Regions from separate parts of the Homo sapiens genome. Here region 2 is linked to region 1. The links are contacts of gene promoters, found by promoter capture Hi-C in blood cells and fetal thymus (Javierre and others, 2016). All regions are on one chromosome and are shown on one strand. The core of a region is centred on a gene start or on the middle of the fragment in contact, and the rest is flanking DNA. Distances in the headings are between cores, read along the strand shown.

Region 1 (7,758 bases), core at 3,410-5,909:
TAATCCCACCGATTTAGGAGGCCAAGTGGGGGTGCCGATCACTTGAGGTCAGGAGTTTGAGACCAGCCTGGCCAACATGGCAAAACCCCACCTCTACTAAAAATACAAAAAATTAGCTGAGCATGGTGGTGCACACCTGTAACTCCAGCTACTTGGGAGGCTGAGGCACGAGAATCACTTGAACCCAGGAGGCGGGGGTTGCAGTGAGGTGAGACTGTGCCATTGCACTCCAGCCTTGGTAACAGAGCAAGACTCTATCTCTAAAAAACAAACAAACAAAAAAAGTTATACTCATCCAGAAGTTACTGACAACAGGCATAGAAATGAAGAAGGGAATTCAAAAGTGCATCCCTCACTGTACTTCCCTTTTCGATCTCGAAAACAAATATATGAAAGGCTTCCAACCCAGATACATTAAAGGGTGATTATTGCCACATAATAGGATTGCCTTAAAAATAATAAATTCATCTAATATATGTATATCAGTATTTTGCTTTTTTTTTGTTTTTTTGTTGCTTTTGTTTTTGTTTTTGAGACAGAGTCTCGCTCTGTCACCCTGGCTGGAGCACGGTGGCGCAATCTCGGCTCACTGTACTCGGATCCCAGAGAGAACCTCCACCTCCTAGGTTCAAGCGATTCTCCTGCCTCAGCTTCCCGAGTTGCTGGGACTACAGGCACATGCCACCACGCCCGTTTTTTTGTTTGTTTGTTTGTTTTTGTATTTTTAGTAGAGATGGGGTTTCACCGTGTTAGCCAGGATAGTTTCGATCTCCTGACCTCATGATCCACCCGCCTCAGCCTCCCAAAGTGCTGGGATTACAGGCATGAGCCATCGCGCCTGGCCGTATCTCAGCATTTTGATTTAAAATTTTTAATTTATATCCTCCTTTTACCCCAATCTTTATCTAATACTTAAATCCATCTAAATATTCTAATACTCTTTCATCTATTTACTATCATGAACTACCTTTCCTCTCTTCCTTTGCTACCAAAAATAAAAAACCATCTCTCTATATAAAACACCAATAAGATATCCTGGTTCACATGCTCATAATCATCTCTGAGTCCTCCCTTACCCAACAATGCCTGTTAAGTCTTCCTTTACTATGCATCTCACATTTATCTTCCCTTCCCTTTCATTCATACTTCATTCCAGAACTCTTGCAAATGCTTCTTCATCTTTCTTCCTTTAATTTGTTTTGCTCATCCCTTCCTAAATCACAGCTTTCATGTTATCCCTCTTTAGCTCACCCTCCCAGCCCTTATCAACAATGCACCACACACACTGCCTGTAAGATAAACTCCAGATGTCTGGTTTCACATTCAGATCTTTGGCCACCAAACTATCTTTTCAGGTTCATCCTTTAACTACCCCAAAAACAATCAAGACAAGGCCATGGCTATATTCTCTAACCACTGAGAAATCACTTTCAAATTCCAGCTCCCATGCAACACCATCCCTCACAAGTCTATCCTGAAATGGCCACTCTCCTCAGCATTTCTGTACATATAACTAAGTATCAACTATATACTGTACATATAACTAAGTATCAACCTCTTCAAAGTGAGATATCTAGTGTTATACACATGCTTGTCTTTGCAACTGGACTACTGATTGATTAACGAGAGGACTATATATTATATACTTGGGTTTACTCCTCTGAATCCAAACAACATTAAGCTCCAAGGACACACTTATTAAATAAAGAATGATCTACTAATGCTTACATAAAGTAAGTGAACCTAAACCAGTCATGTATTAATAAAATGTTTCAGTGATCACATCCCTGACAATGGAAAGTTTATTTTGATGTATAAACTGCCAGGAAAGGGAGTATACATATTAAAATATAGTTAATACAGAATTATTAAAGTGACTGATAATCCCCTGCAATAGAGTAGGAGTGGCGTGGGGGAGGTGACAGCACTGAGCTACATCCGTCTCTGAAATGACCCTGGTCCAGTCCATTAAGGATCCTGAAGATCAGCATTCACTAGTTCCTAGTGGACATAAAAATTTTCTTAAGTAATATAAATAATTCACACCTTCTCTCCCTTCTGCAAAAAATCTGGGATGGTTGAGAAACGTCTACAAGTGAAAACACTCTAAGAAAAGAGAAGCTAAAGAGTAGTTGTAGTTCAAGTCAGCAGAAAAAGAAAATGAGATAATATAAGTACTTTCTTAAAACTTCTGGGGTGTAAAACAGGAACACTTCATTTGTTCAATCATTTATTATGAAAACATGAGAAGAAGACAAAAAAAACCAAAAAAAAATAGGATCATCACTGCCTCAACACCTATCTAATGGACACCCACTGGCCACCCCACCACAGATGCAGGGCCCAGGCTTCCATCCACTCACCCCTAGCATGGAGAAGTTTACTTTTGCAATATAACTTGTGAAGTAATTTTGGCACAAGACACTAAATGGGAATGTATGACTCCAAATTCACTTAGCAGATTAACACTGAAATCAAATGGAAAAGGGCCACTGTCTGATCTGCTGGGAATGAAAGACCCTCTCTTGAAGCAATAAAAATCCACCAGGCTGGTTAATACATCCAGTTGTTGAAGCTAAATTTCTGACAAAGACAAACAACAATGAGCTCTTACACAAAGCCCAATAAACTTTCAATTTCCGTCCACTATAGTTGTTGTAAGCTGGAAGGCAGGCCAAGTCTAGCTATCTTTGTAAAGGGTTAAAAAGAATGAATTCGGGCAGGGCAGTGGCTCACATCTGCAATCCCAGCTACTGGGAAGCCTGAGGCATAAGAATTGCTTGAACCTGGGAGGCAGAGGTTGCAATGAACCGAGCTCACGCCATTGCACTCCAGCCTCGGTGACAGAGTGAGACTCTGTCTCAAAAAAAAAAAAAAGAATGAATTTAATGAATTAACTGGTCTAGTGACATCCTAATAACACAGACTATCCATATTTATATTTACTAGCTTCTGAACTAAATGATGATAAGTTATTGCTTGACCTGGTGAGTGTGGCCTCTTAGCAGTCAGTGAAAGTTTAAACGAAGGACATACAGCAGCAGGTTGCTCTTCATTAATTAATTTATTTATTTTCCCCCCAGAAAGACCTCCACTGATAGTACTGTGGAATATTGGGTTGGACGGATTTAAAGTAGAACGTGGGAGACCAGACAGAAGTCTACAGCAAAAGGCCAGGCAAAAACTTGATGAGAGCCTAGAATACAGAAGTGGCAAAAAAGAAAACTTCAAATGTCACAGTACAAATCCTATTGTTCACTATCCTGGGTCCCATCCCAGGCAACGTGCATGTAAGATTTTACCTAATACAGGGGTTCTGACAACATTATGCTTGTCAGGTTTTCTTAAGACAACAAAATGGACTTGCATTCGGGGAGCACACACTGACAAACAAATCTGTCCTTTCAGACTATATATATTCCCAGCTTCTGGACACAGAACACAGTGATCCCTCAATTAGTGGATACTTGTGATATGAAAGAACTGAGGATTTGGGAGGAATGCAGAGGAGTAACATTGGTCACTGGCAGGTAAGTGTGAAGGGACGACTCACCACGTCAAGCAAGCAGTCACCCTGCCCAATGCCTGCTCCAGAACCTTAGGAAAAAGGCAGAGGTGCGGCGTGGCTTCCATTTCTCTCCAGAATCCAGTAAACTAGACTAGCCTTTGAGTAAAATCAACTGAAAGGGACGACAGATGCAAACTACCTATGAGATGCTAAGTGGTATTTGCAGCCAAAAGAAAATGAATACACTTTCCCTGTATTCCCAGCAAACGTGGAAATCCGCAAACCACTCATGACCCCCTCCCTAGCACTAAGTGAGTACTTAACAAACACCTTTGGAAAAGAACCCCGCCCTCTTCTGGAGAAGCCGCAGCCTTTCCGCCCAGAGCCGGGTCCCCCGCCACACAGCACCCCTGGAGTGCGTCCCACCCCGAACGCCCCGGCGCGCTGACCCAGCGGGACACCTCCCTGGTGCGCGCAAGTCTCCCAAACTTCCTCCCGCCGCCCCGGCCCGGGTCCACGCAAGGAGGGTGGCATTCCCTCCCGACAGCAAGGCGGGTGGGGCGGGCCGCCGGGACTCTGCGGGGTGGCGGTAGACGTCCCAAGGTCACCACCCGAGCCCGAACCGCCTCGGAGAGCGGTCTCGTGACTCCAGCGCCCAGCAGCCTCGGCCCTCGGGGCTAGCCCTGCGGCGCGGGGTGGGGGAGCCCGTCCCGGACAGGGAGAAAGGTGGGAGCCCAGGACCCCGCGGCGCGTGGGGCTGCGTCAGAGCAGGTGTCGGGCTAGGAAGGCCACCTGCGCCCCAAGAGACCCGGGAGCGGCTTAAGTTTGTCCTCACCCGCCCGCCGCCCCCTGCCCATGCAGGGGTACCTGCTCCCCGCCTCCAAGAAGAGGGTCGGCGCTTCCCTGAGGTGGATACGCCTGAGGAAGGGGGCGGGGCGCCCCTAACGCACCCAGGGCCCGCTCAGCCCGCCGCCCCGCGGCTCGGCCCTCTCTTCAGGAACCCCGACGTGTCAGGGAAGGAGGAGGCGTTCTTACCTCCGGGAGACCCTGGCCCTCCGGCCCCCTGGGCAACCCCATGATCCGACCGGGCTGTCGTAAGGCGAGAGCGAAGCCCGCCAAGCGTCCGGAGGAAGCTGTCCCTGCCGCGGAGCTGCTACCGGGGTGGAGTACAAAGCGGAAACTCCCTCTGCCGCCGCCGCCGCCGCCGCCGCCGCCTGCCCGAAGCGCCGCAGCCGGGCAGAGCATGCGCGCTGGGGCCGGAGCGCGGCGCCACTGCGCCTGCGCCACAGCAGCCCGGGGAGAGGTGGGCTGGGCTGCAGGTCCTGGCGTTGTGCTGGATCATCGCGCCCGTACTCTGAAGTTTTCTCCGTGGCGCTCTTTGAGAGGGGTTCCTCCTGCATCTTGAGAATATTTTGCATTTCGGCTCCCTTCTCTTCTCGCTGCCATCGGATGCCCCAAATAGGTCCTGTCCCCTCGGTGAATCAGACTTCGGAAACCGCCTCGCTTCAGGGTCAGAGTCCAAGTACAGATGAGCTTGAGGATTCTGAATGCACGCCCGGCTCTAGACCTTACAGACACACGCTTGGACAGACTTCTCCATATACGACCCAGGAACGGACCCCTTGAGAAGGGATTCTTCAAGCCCGCTGCCCTCTCCAGCGTCCTGGCCAGTGGCATCGCGTTCCCAGGAAACCTCGCTTCAGATATTGCCCACCACCCCGCCCTATTCACGGTTCCTGGGTCTTCCTGGAGGAATGACATCTCAGAGAATGCGGACTCCTATGTTCATGTCATTTGAGCCGCCGCGTCCCTTATTTGATGTACCCCTTGTTGGTCCCGGAGGATGGCAACTAGACAAAAGGTCACAGGCCCCCACACCCGCTCCATAACGGCTTCTTGGCTTTTTGTTTCTTTTAAGCAATGAGGAAAGAGATGACTTTCGTGAAAACTTTTGCTGGAGAAGAGATCCTTCCCTCTGTATATGTGTGTGGGATGGGAAGTGTCAGACTCAGACCTTTAGTTCCTTGAGATCAAAAAGGTTTCGTGTTTGCTTTCGTCTCTTCTTTGCATCCCTAGCGTCTTTAAAAGAGTAGGCAGGCGCGGTGGCACATGCCTGTAATCCCAGCACTTTGGGGGTCGAGGCGGGAGTATCACTTGAACCTAGGAGTTGGAGACCAACCTGGGCAACATAGTGAGACCTCCATCTCTACAAAAAATAAGAAAATTAGCCCGGTGCCAGTGGTCCCAGCTAGCCGGTAGGCTGAGGTGGGAGAATTGCTTGAGCCAGGAAGGTTGAGGTTGCAGTGAGCTATGATAACACCACTGCACTCCTGCTTGGGTGACAGAGCAAGACCCTGTCTAAAAACTATATATATATACGTGTATATATATATATGTGTGTATATATATATACGTGTATATATGTGTGTATATATATACGTGTATATATATATGATGTTTTCTATTTTATTTTATTTTTGCACCTTTTGTACTCCTCCTGGAGTTCATCCTGACAGACAGAGGTTTGTCTGGAGCCAGAGCTCACAAATAGTTGGAACTGCCCTAAGGATGCCATTTTGTTCTTAAATATAACTAGCAAATATTACTCAAAGCTGTGCACGATCCCCAAACCCTGGTCCCCAATAATTTGAATAATCTGAATATGCAAGTTAAGGTATTGAGATGGGAACCCTCCTGTGTGGTATATCTTGCTCTTATCCTTTGTGAAGCCAATAAACTTCAATTTCTACTCTCATAACTTCCCAAATGTGTTGTTTTTGTAGTTTTAAAACTGTCATTCACTGAAATGGTATAGGTTGATGGGGAATGGAGAGTGATAATAATTTGTGGCCACTGTTGAGTGACCAGACAGGTACTGATGCCTAGGAACAGGTAGTAAGATCTCACATAGCAGGCAAGCCTAAACAGCTGTATATAATAGCAGCCTGGAGAATAACAGGACTCAGGCCACACCCTGAGTTCCCTGTTATAATGCTTTTGCAATGTTTTAAATAAGCATGAGTAGCTAACTTCCTCAGTAAGAAACTGTCCTTCCCGAGCGCGGTGGCTCATGTCTGTAATCCCAGCACTTTGAGAGGCCGAGGCGGGTGGATCACCTGAGATTGGGAGTTCGAGACCAGCCTGACCAACATGGAGAAATGCCGTCTCTACTAAAAATACAAAATTAGCCGGGCGTGGCAGCGCATGCCTGTAATCCCAGCTACTTGGTAGGCTGAGGCAGGAGAATCACTTGAACTGGGAAGGCGGAGGTTGCGGTGAGCTGAGATTGTGCCACTGCACTCCAGCCTGGGCAACAAGAGTGAAACTCTGTCTAAAAAAAAAAAAAGAAACTGTCCTATGTTACAACAGGTGTAGAGTGACAGTAACAGAGTTGAGGGGCATGGGGCATGCTTAAAAAAAAAAATCTCAGCAAAACAGCCATAATATCGTCAAGAAAGTTTGAACAGGGCTAGGTGGCACCTGCTTATGTCCCAGCAACTCGGGAGGCTGAGGCAGGAAAATCGCTTGAGCCCAGGAGTTCTGGGCTTTAGTAAGCTATGCCAATCAGAGATCTGCACTAAGTTTGGTATCAATACAGTGACCTCCAGGGAGCAAGGTTGCCTAAGGAGTGGTGAACTGGCCCAGGTCAGAAACAGAGCAGGTTAAAACTTCTGTGCTGATCAGTAGTGGGATCATGACCATGAATAGCCACTGCACTTAAGCCTGGGCAATATAGCAAGACACTGTCTCTTAAAAAAGAAAAAGAAAGTTTAAGCAGCCCATATTTGAGAGCAGAAACCCTTCACAGTCTTGAAGAAGACCTTTAACAGCCAATGCAGACAAGGAGGCTTGTGAGGAATCTCTCAGATCAATCCATCTCTCTCCCTTTCCCTTCACTCCAGGCACCCTCACAAATTGTGTCTCCCAAGTGTGATATCTGAGGACTAGAAATCAGTCATTCTGTCTCTCTTCTGTACACTGAGTACAGAGTTGTGTGATGTTCCTCTTTGGAGCCTCACAAATACTTTCCAGTTCGTGGGTAAAGAGGTACCATAGTGATATAGTTTGGATATTTGTCCCACCCAGATCTCATGTCAAAATGTAATAGCCAGTGTTGGAGGTGGGGCCTGGTGGGAGGTGATTGGCTCGTTGGGGTGGATTTTTTGTGAATGGTTTAGCAACATCCTCTTGGTGCTGTCTTCCTGACACTGAGTCACTCATCACGAGATCTGGCTGTTTAAAAGTGTGGC
Region 2 (7,758 bases), core at 1,432-3,931, 50 kb before region 1:
TATAAACTTGTAAGTTCCTCTGTTTGCCTCTGAGTTTAGAGACAGTGCTATGGGAAGCTGCTTTGTTTAATGGGAAGTTATTTTTAGTCAGATAAAACAGTTTATTACTGAGCTGAAATGAGAGTTCCTAACCTAGTAAACAGAAAGCTGACCGCTCTGTTTTTCAAACACACTTTTTATTAAGCAATCTAAATTTTTTGTTTCTCAAAGCCAAGAGAACTCAGACTGATGAAGACAGGAACAGGTCCGTAAACCAGCAGGTCTCATCTAATGGTTCATTCACTGAGAGATACGATGAGAAAGAAAACTAGATGACCAAGGTGGATTTTGAATGATGAGACAAAGTCAGACAGAAGGAGAAGAGGAAAAGGGGCTTTATACTAAATCCTTGACAGAAAAAATTTAAACCGTAGAGCATCTTAACAGATTTCTGCTGCCAAAATGCAACATCTGTCAAAGAACATCAACCATCTACAAATATTCCATTTGTGTTTACATTGCAGTGAGGGCTAAAGTGCCAATCTAATTTGTTCAACATTTTCAGATTAAGAACGTGCTTTCAAAACCACATTGTGGATTAAGATGACTTCTAGTGTAAATTTAGTGTTTTCTAATAACTGACAGATATTCACAACTTCTATTTTTAGAGGAAACAGATTTAAATGTCACCGAATAATATTAGTCTAGTTCAAAATGGTAAATTCCCAAGAGAAGCAAAAAATGATTACTTTAGCTAAAACTATATACTTTTATAATTGAAAGAAACCCAAAAGGTTATTTACACATCAACCTTCTAATACAGGGTTCTCTCCTATATCATCTCCCTACCCCACCAAAATATGGTCACTAAGCTGACAATAATAAAGAATTCCTATCTTACAAGGTACCAGGAGTTCTCTACACTAAATAGATGGACTTCAATTTTTGGTACCCTGACTGACCAATTAAGGACAAGTAGGCTGGGCGCAGTGGCTCGCGCCTGTAATCCCAGCACCTCCAGAGGCCAAGGTGAGTGGATCACTTGAGGTCAGGAGTTCAAGACCAGCCTAGCCAACATGGTGAAACCCTACTCTACTAAAAATACAAAAATTAGCCAGGCATAGTGGCATACGCCTGTAATCCCAGCTACTTGGGAGGCTGAGGCATGAGAATTGCTTAAACCCAGGAGGTGGAGGTTGCAGTGAGCCGAGGTCACACCACTACACTCCAGCCTGGGCGGCAGAGTGGGACTCTGCCTCAAATAAATAAATAAAGACAAGTAAACAGACTATGTGAAATATTTATTTAAAAATGTTTTTAAATCTAAGAACTAGCAAGAATGTTAAATTTCGGAAGGCCAAAAAGTAACTGAAAGTGGGAATCCAGGAATGTATATGTACCCACTGAAGTTGGCTTTTTTTCCTGAGAGTATTTGCCAAAACCTGATGATCACAAGCTTTGATTTTTACAATTCAGTAACAACTTTTTACCACATAAATCTTGATACAGCTGTAAGAGGGAAAAAATCCACAATGAGATTTTGTAACAACAGATTGGACCTCATGCAGTTCTGCAATCCTAATTCACACACTACTTTGGGGCAAAAAACCCATAAGTAAGGACTAGGTATAAAATGCACTTGGGCTGAAGTATCCCCAGGTGCTTGGCAGAAGCAAAAGCAGATCTTCCCTGAAAGAACAGAGCTTCAATCCTAGGCCTCAAATAGTTCCTACAGATAAACTTCTAAGGGATATGGGGCTCACAGTCAAAAATCAAAAGCAGACAAGAAGTCAAACTACCATAAACAAAAGCCAGTGAAAACAGACAGCAGAACTGCATCTGTAAAGACTTATTCAAATACACCCCCTCCCAATGCACACACCATATACATACAAGCATGCCCATTCCTCCCTAAAGCAACAGATTAAATCTAATCACTCTTTCAGATAACAGTTCAACTAAGTGTCTACAGCTCTTCCACCTGTCCTTTCTATAACAAGATGCTGACACCTTTCACCACCTTGGATGTTATCCTAGTTTGTAAGTGAACTTCTAAAGCACTCCTGATGATGTGTGACCACTGCAGATAGGAGGGAATCATCCACTTTCCCTGATCTATATTCTGCTTCCAAAAATGAAACTCAATACATGAATGCTCTTTTCAATATTTTTAAAACCCACTAATGAAATTCCATGAATTTCAAAAACCCATAGTTATGTAACCTTGTTGAGTCTAAGGCTTTGCTTTGGGTCCCACTGTGAGTAATGCGGTGTGCCTGCTCAGAATGCACTTAACATTTAGGAGGTGTGAACAAAATCCAAAACCTCCTCTTTAATCCCCATACACTACTGTCAGGTCAGATGGCATCCTCACCAAATCATGAATTGGTACAACTCACTTTTCTGAAATTCAACAGTTTTTTCATTTTTCTTAAGTGATGTTCCAATTATCTTTGCAAGTGATGCTTTAAGTGATGCTCAAATCTGGCAAGGCTAAAGTCCAAGTCTTTATGCAAATTGATACGGACTCTGAAATGTATAAGTTGTGCTGTGTGGCTTGAGATCATTTTACCAGGCTGACAATTCATTAGTTGATACCATTATCCTTGCAGTTAGGTATTGTATACTAATTACGTAAGAGTCGATCCGAATTCAGGAAATCTTAGAGCCGTTTGTAAACAGAAACATATTTAGCATTGTTCTCTCCAGATTTACAGGGTTCCTTACTCTCTTAACTCTGATTAAAATTTTAAATCTCTCTCCCCACCTTCCTTGGCTTATTTCAGCTAATCTTTACTCAGATCTTATTGTGTGGGGGCACGGTGGTATGCACTGGGGAAGTGGGAAAAGACAAAGACTGTACCTCTGGCCCTTCATAATCTAGCCAGACAAAACCAGCTAATTCGTAAGTAAAGGTGTTGCATCCTCTGCATTCTCCTCAATGCCTAAATTGTGTCACAGAGGAAAAGGGTTTTGAAAGCTGCTGTTGTTCCTTCCTCTCCCTCTCTTCCTTTCTTCTTTCCTTCAGCAAATATCTGTGAAAACCCAATTGTGTTGGGCACTGAGAGTATACTATAATCCTAGCCCTCCTGGAAAGCAAACATTCTAGTCCTGGGAGACAAGCAAAGAAACAAACGAAACAGTGCTTGAGGGAAGTGCTACAAAGGAGATAAAGAGCTGATCTCTACAACATCACTGAAGAGCCTCTTTTAAGAAGTAGAATTTTTTTTTTTTTAAGAGGGTCTCACTCTGTTGCCCAGGCTGGAATGCAGTGGCATGATCATAGCTCACTGCAACCTCAAACTCCTGAGCTCAAGCAATCCTCCTGCCTCTGCCTCCCAAGGAGCTGGGACTGGAGGTACATGTCACTATACCCAAGTAATTTTAAAAAAATATTTTGTAGAGATAGGGGTCTCACCATGTTGCCCAGGCTGATCTCAAACTCCTGGCCTCAAGCGATCCTCTCGCCTCAGGCTCCCAAAATGCTTGGATTACAGGCGTGAGCCTCTGTGCCTGGCCCAGAATCATTGCTAATGGCTATCAGGTGAGTCTCCACAAAGTCTTCAAGTGATCCATTATCTTCTACTGAGTATTTATTATGAATGAAGCAACAGGAATACAAAGATAAAAAATGAAATATTGGCCCTCTAAAACTTCAGAGGTTAGGAATATGATTTATGCAACACCTATTATGTTATGTGAGGAAATAGTATCTAGAATGAAGGGGTTTAAAAATCTACCTAGACCCCCACCCCTCCTGATTTTAGACCCCCAAACCCTCCTGGGTTTTTCTATCTGTGGCCACAATAGGAGGTTTCCAAGAGAGGAACACCCCCACCCCTTTCCTGACTCATACTACACTTCTCCCCAACTCCACAAACCGATGCTGCTAGCAAGTGGTAACATTTTTTGAGTTGGGCAGGATGATAGGATTGGAAACACTCACATCTAAGCTTATTAGAAATCACACAGGTGGCAGATCAGGCTGATTTTCTAACAAAGCAGTCGGGGTCCCCGGGCTGCTAAGCTTCCTGTTACTTTCTGGCCCAGGCAATGTCCCTGGGGTGTGGTATCTTCACTCAGTCCTAAGCCCTTCCCTTTTCCATTTCTAACCCCATGGTATAATTTTAAAAGTCATCCATTCTGCCTGGTTATTATCAGGCAAAAATATTTTAATATCAACAAAAATATCAACAACTTTTCTTTGGGCAGATACTGTCACTTCAAATGATAACACAAACCTAGTAGCACCCGGCAGCCACTTTATAGGCATACAAATTGTATTATTCTGTAATTTATGTTTTCACAGGTTGACTGACTCCTTACTGGAAGCCCCTCAGGGCCGCAACCCTGACTCACGCGTAACGCAATCCCTGCCCCCTACACCTGACACTGCCTGGATGCAGATCTACTCAACAGGTGTTTGCTGAAAGAAGAAATATATCTAATCACTCTTTCACATGACAGTGATTATGAGGTCAATTCCATCAGTTCTCTGGCAGAAAAAAAAAACAAAGACTTAAAATATAAAAAGATTGTATTAATTTAAAAATATATTTTCAGAAGACTTCATACGTTTGGAAAAAGTGTAAGAGTTACAAACCCAGGGTGGAGAAATAACAACGTGAAGGCAACTACTAAGAGGACAAACGATATATTAACAATTGATTCTTTTGGGTCAATTCCCTCCAACTTTGTTGAATAAATTTCCTGAGGGCCTAGTGGAAACGAAGGCCTTATGGGGGTGCTAGCCACCATGTGTGCCCCATATCTGTTGGTAGAAAAGTAATCCCTGTCTCCTACTCTTTCTAGTTCAGAGGGGCTGCCAGTCACACCCAACTCCTGGCAACAATGGGCCTGGGGAGAAATCTGTGACCTAAGCCATGACAGACAGAGGACAGTCCTTCCTTAGGATTTTATACACTGATGGAGGAAGGGGGCAGTAAGACAGAAACTGTCTACAGTCAGGCCTCCAAGGTGATGAAGCCAAGACAGAGACAAAGTGAAGCAAGGGTAAAGGGATATGGCAGGGCCATTTGAGTCCCCCACTAAATACTTCCAGTTCTGAGAGCTGATAAAGGCTCCCTTTTGCTTATAGCAACATGCTGGGTAGAATTCCTATTACTTGCACCCAAAAGGCTTAAAAGGCAAAGGGTCCAACTTAGTGAGTGACAGAACTGAAGAGGCAGTCTTCTCTGCTGATTGCATCATAAAGTGGAATAAAAATCATCATGATAGATGGGGACAAGATCTGCTCTAATCAAATGTGGCTGTCTGCTTTTTCTAGAAGAGACACTTTCCTTTGTGTTTTTTCATAAGTACATCCTTGACCATACCCAAGCTCTAATTATCTGGCGAGATTCCCCAGGTGCTCTGGAAAGATATGACTTCAAGATAGAGCAAAGGCTTCTAACTGCCAGAGAATGATTCTCAGAATCAAAAGGTCAGAGGCAATGGTGCCAGAATTTCTTAATTGCTGGACAGGAAAATTTCCAAAACCCATTAAGGAAAAATTCCTTCCACAAATAAGTCCCTTGATGATCTAAAATACACCTTGCTATGGAAATGAGATCAAGATGTTGACATTCTTCGGGCTAGGATATTACCTCCCACTGCCTTTTTTTTCTGAAACAAAGTCTCTCTCTGTCGCCCAGGCTGGAGTGCAGTGGCGCGATCTCAGCTCACTGCAACCTCCGCCTCCCAGGTTCAAGCTACCAATCCCACCTCAGCCTCCCAAGTAGCTGGGATTACAAGCATGTGCCACCACACCCAGCTAATTTTTGTATTTTAGTAGAGACAGGGTTTCACCATGTTGGCCAGGCTGGTCTCAAACTCCTGACCTCAAGTGATCTGCCTGCCTCAGCCTTCCAAAGTGCTGGGATTACAGGCGTGAGCCACCATGCCTAGCCAGATATTACCCTTTAAAGGACTGCATGAGACCACATTAATGTGGTATTCTCCAGAAACATGAAGAGTCACTTAGATACTCCAAATACAAACTTCCACGGCTTTCAGCAGCTTAGGTTTATGGTGTGTGAGTGCCTGGGCTGAGCTGCACCATTTTCACTTTCTCTTGTTTCCGTGGTTAGTTCCCGGTATGCCCTAGCTACCAATAGCCCAAGGTAGGCAGTTGAATAGTGGGACAGTCTAAGGAGGCACAGCCACAGCCAAGCCTGGAAGGCAGACACTAAGGATGGTAAAGGAGGCTGTCCCTGCTTCTCCCTAAGGAAGCTCCACCTAGCCAAGGAGAAAGATTGCAAAGTCAAAACAGTCCTGCACTCAAACCTGGAACTTATTAGCTGTATGGCACTGGACAAGTCACATAATCTCGTTTCTTTGCCTGCAAAATGGATATAATATCACGTACTCATTTATAGAGCACCAACACTGGTGGGCCCTTAGCGAGACTCTCAGATTACAAACAAGAGTAAAGGTGGTCCACAGCCACATAAACAGATAGTTTCAACTGCATATAAGTATAATGATGGAGGAAGGCAGAGGATTATAAGCAGGAAGGCAGCCTATACGAATTAAATGAGATAATTTTTTAGAATTAAAAAATAAGAACTAAATGAGATAATGGTACACAAAGAATCTGCATGGAGAGGCACTCAGGGTAGATTCAGATTCACCAAGACAAATCTGTGCCTCTAGAGCTATAAAATATTCAGATCCTTTAGAGCTACAAAATGTTCCAATATCCTGTCTTAGGGAGAAGTCAACCAATGAATGATTTAGTTGGCAGACTAAGTATTAAAGCGGTCAAAACGGTGTATGGTTAGTTAGTATGCAGCATTAGGGAAAGTCCCTTCCTGCCCTCCCAGGGACCTTGCAACTTCCCTGGCCCAGCTTCCTTTTCTTTCTTCTGGCTCCTATCAAGCTTAGGGGGTTGCAGGGCGGAAATATATTTTGGACAGTCAGGCATTTCAGTTTTCTGTAAATCAGAGTAATAGATTCTTCTTCCCTGTAAAAATAAATGCTATGATGCAGTGAGAATATTAGACATGAACACCAAAAGCACACTGGTACTTCTTGTAGCACATTCAGGGAAGGGTGTTACCCTTTGGAAACAATGGCAGATGGAGCTACTCAGCCTAGAGTCTACGGACACTCATGAATTATGTATCTGGAAGCTTCTTCACATTCCTCTTTCTGCTGCTCTACAAGAACCATATTGAGTTACATGTCTCAGGAACTTTGAGATACATGTTATGTTACACTCTTATAAGAAACTTGTGAACTTTACCAGTAAAAGAGAATACTGCACATGTTTTTTACCTTGTTTTTATATCCCAGTGCCTGTGAAGTTTCCAAACACTCACATCTGGCAGGCTATTCAATTTATTCCCTGGTCACAAAATCATTTTTACACTTGATCCTCCCCGCAAATTATCCTTTTCCCTCTCTTCATAAAGAAAAAAAAAATCCTGATCTCAGCCTAAGTGAGTTTTTCTCAGATACTACCAACAGCTTCCCTCCTGGGCATTCCTCAATCCCATCTCTATTTCCAAGGTATATTACTGAGACCCTGAAGGTGGCAGCATTGCCAGTGTCCAGTTTCAGCCCAATCTGTGGCAGTATGATTAAAAGACCAATAAGCAAACCATGGTAGACAACTCTACAATGGCCCCATGATTCCCACCTGCTGATGTTCACACCTGCCTTTGTGTAACCCCTTTCTTTTGGGTGTGGACGGAAGCTGTGCCTTGCTTCTAACCAACAGAATACACCACAGAGAAAAGGCAGTCTTTTGATTACATATATGTAATTACGTTATGT

What was found. The method cuts DNA at HindIII sites, captures the fragments that hold promoters and counts their contacts. A CHiCAGO score of 5 or more calls a contact.
Region 2: a contact is called between a fragment that was not itself captured here and the fragment with the promoter of CCDC93 in region 1, in 1 of 17 cell types (monocytes). The highest score is 6.0, in monocytes.

The regions. Positions count from the first base shown.
Region 1 is chr2:118,009,411-118,017,168 of GRCh38, forward strand. CCDC93 (CCC complex scaffolding subunit CCDC93) reads right to left here and starts at 4,660. Exons shown (of 24, transcript NM_019044.5): 1 at 4,544-4,660. The coding sequence starts at 4,585. It also overlaps the pseudogene RN7SL111P. RefSeq lists silencers at 4,148-4,197, 4,668-4,867. The HindIII fragment of the contact is 9,438 bases long and covers 1-7,758 here.
Region 2 is chr2:117,961,405-117,969,162 of GRCh38, forward strand. The region is part of intron 11 of CCDC93 (CCC complex scaffolding subunit CCDC93); the gene reads right to left. Among named protein-coding and RNA genes, the nearest start is that of CCDC93, 49 kb to the right of the region's middle. The HindIII fragment of the contact is 2,497 bases long and covers 1,434-3,930 here.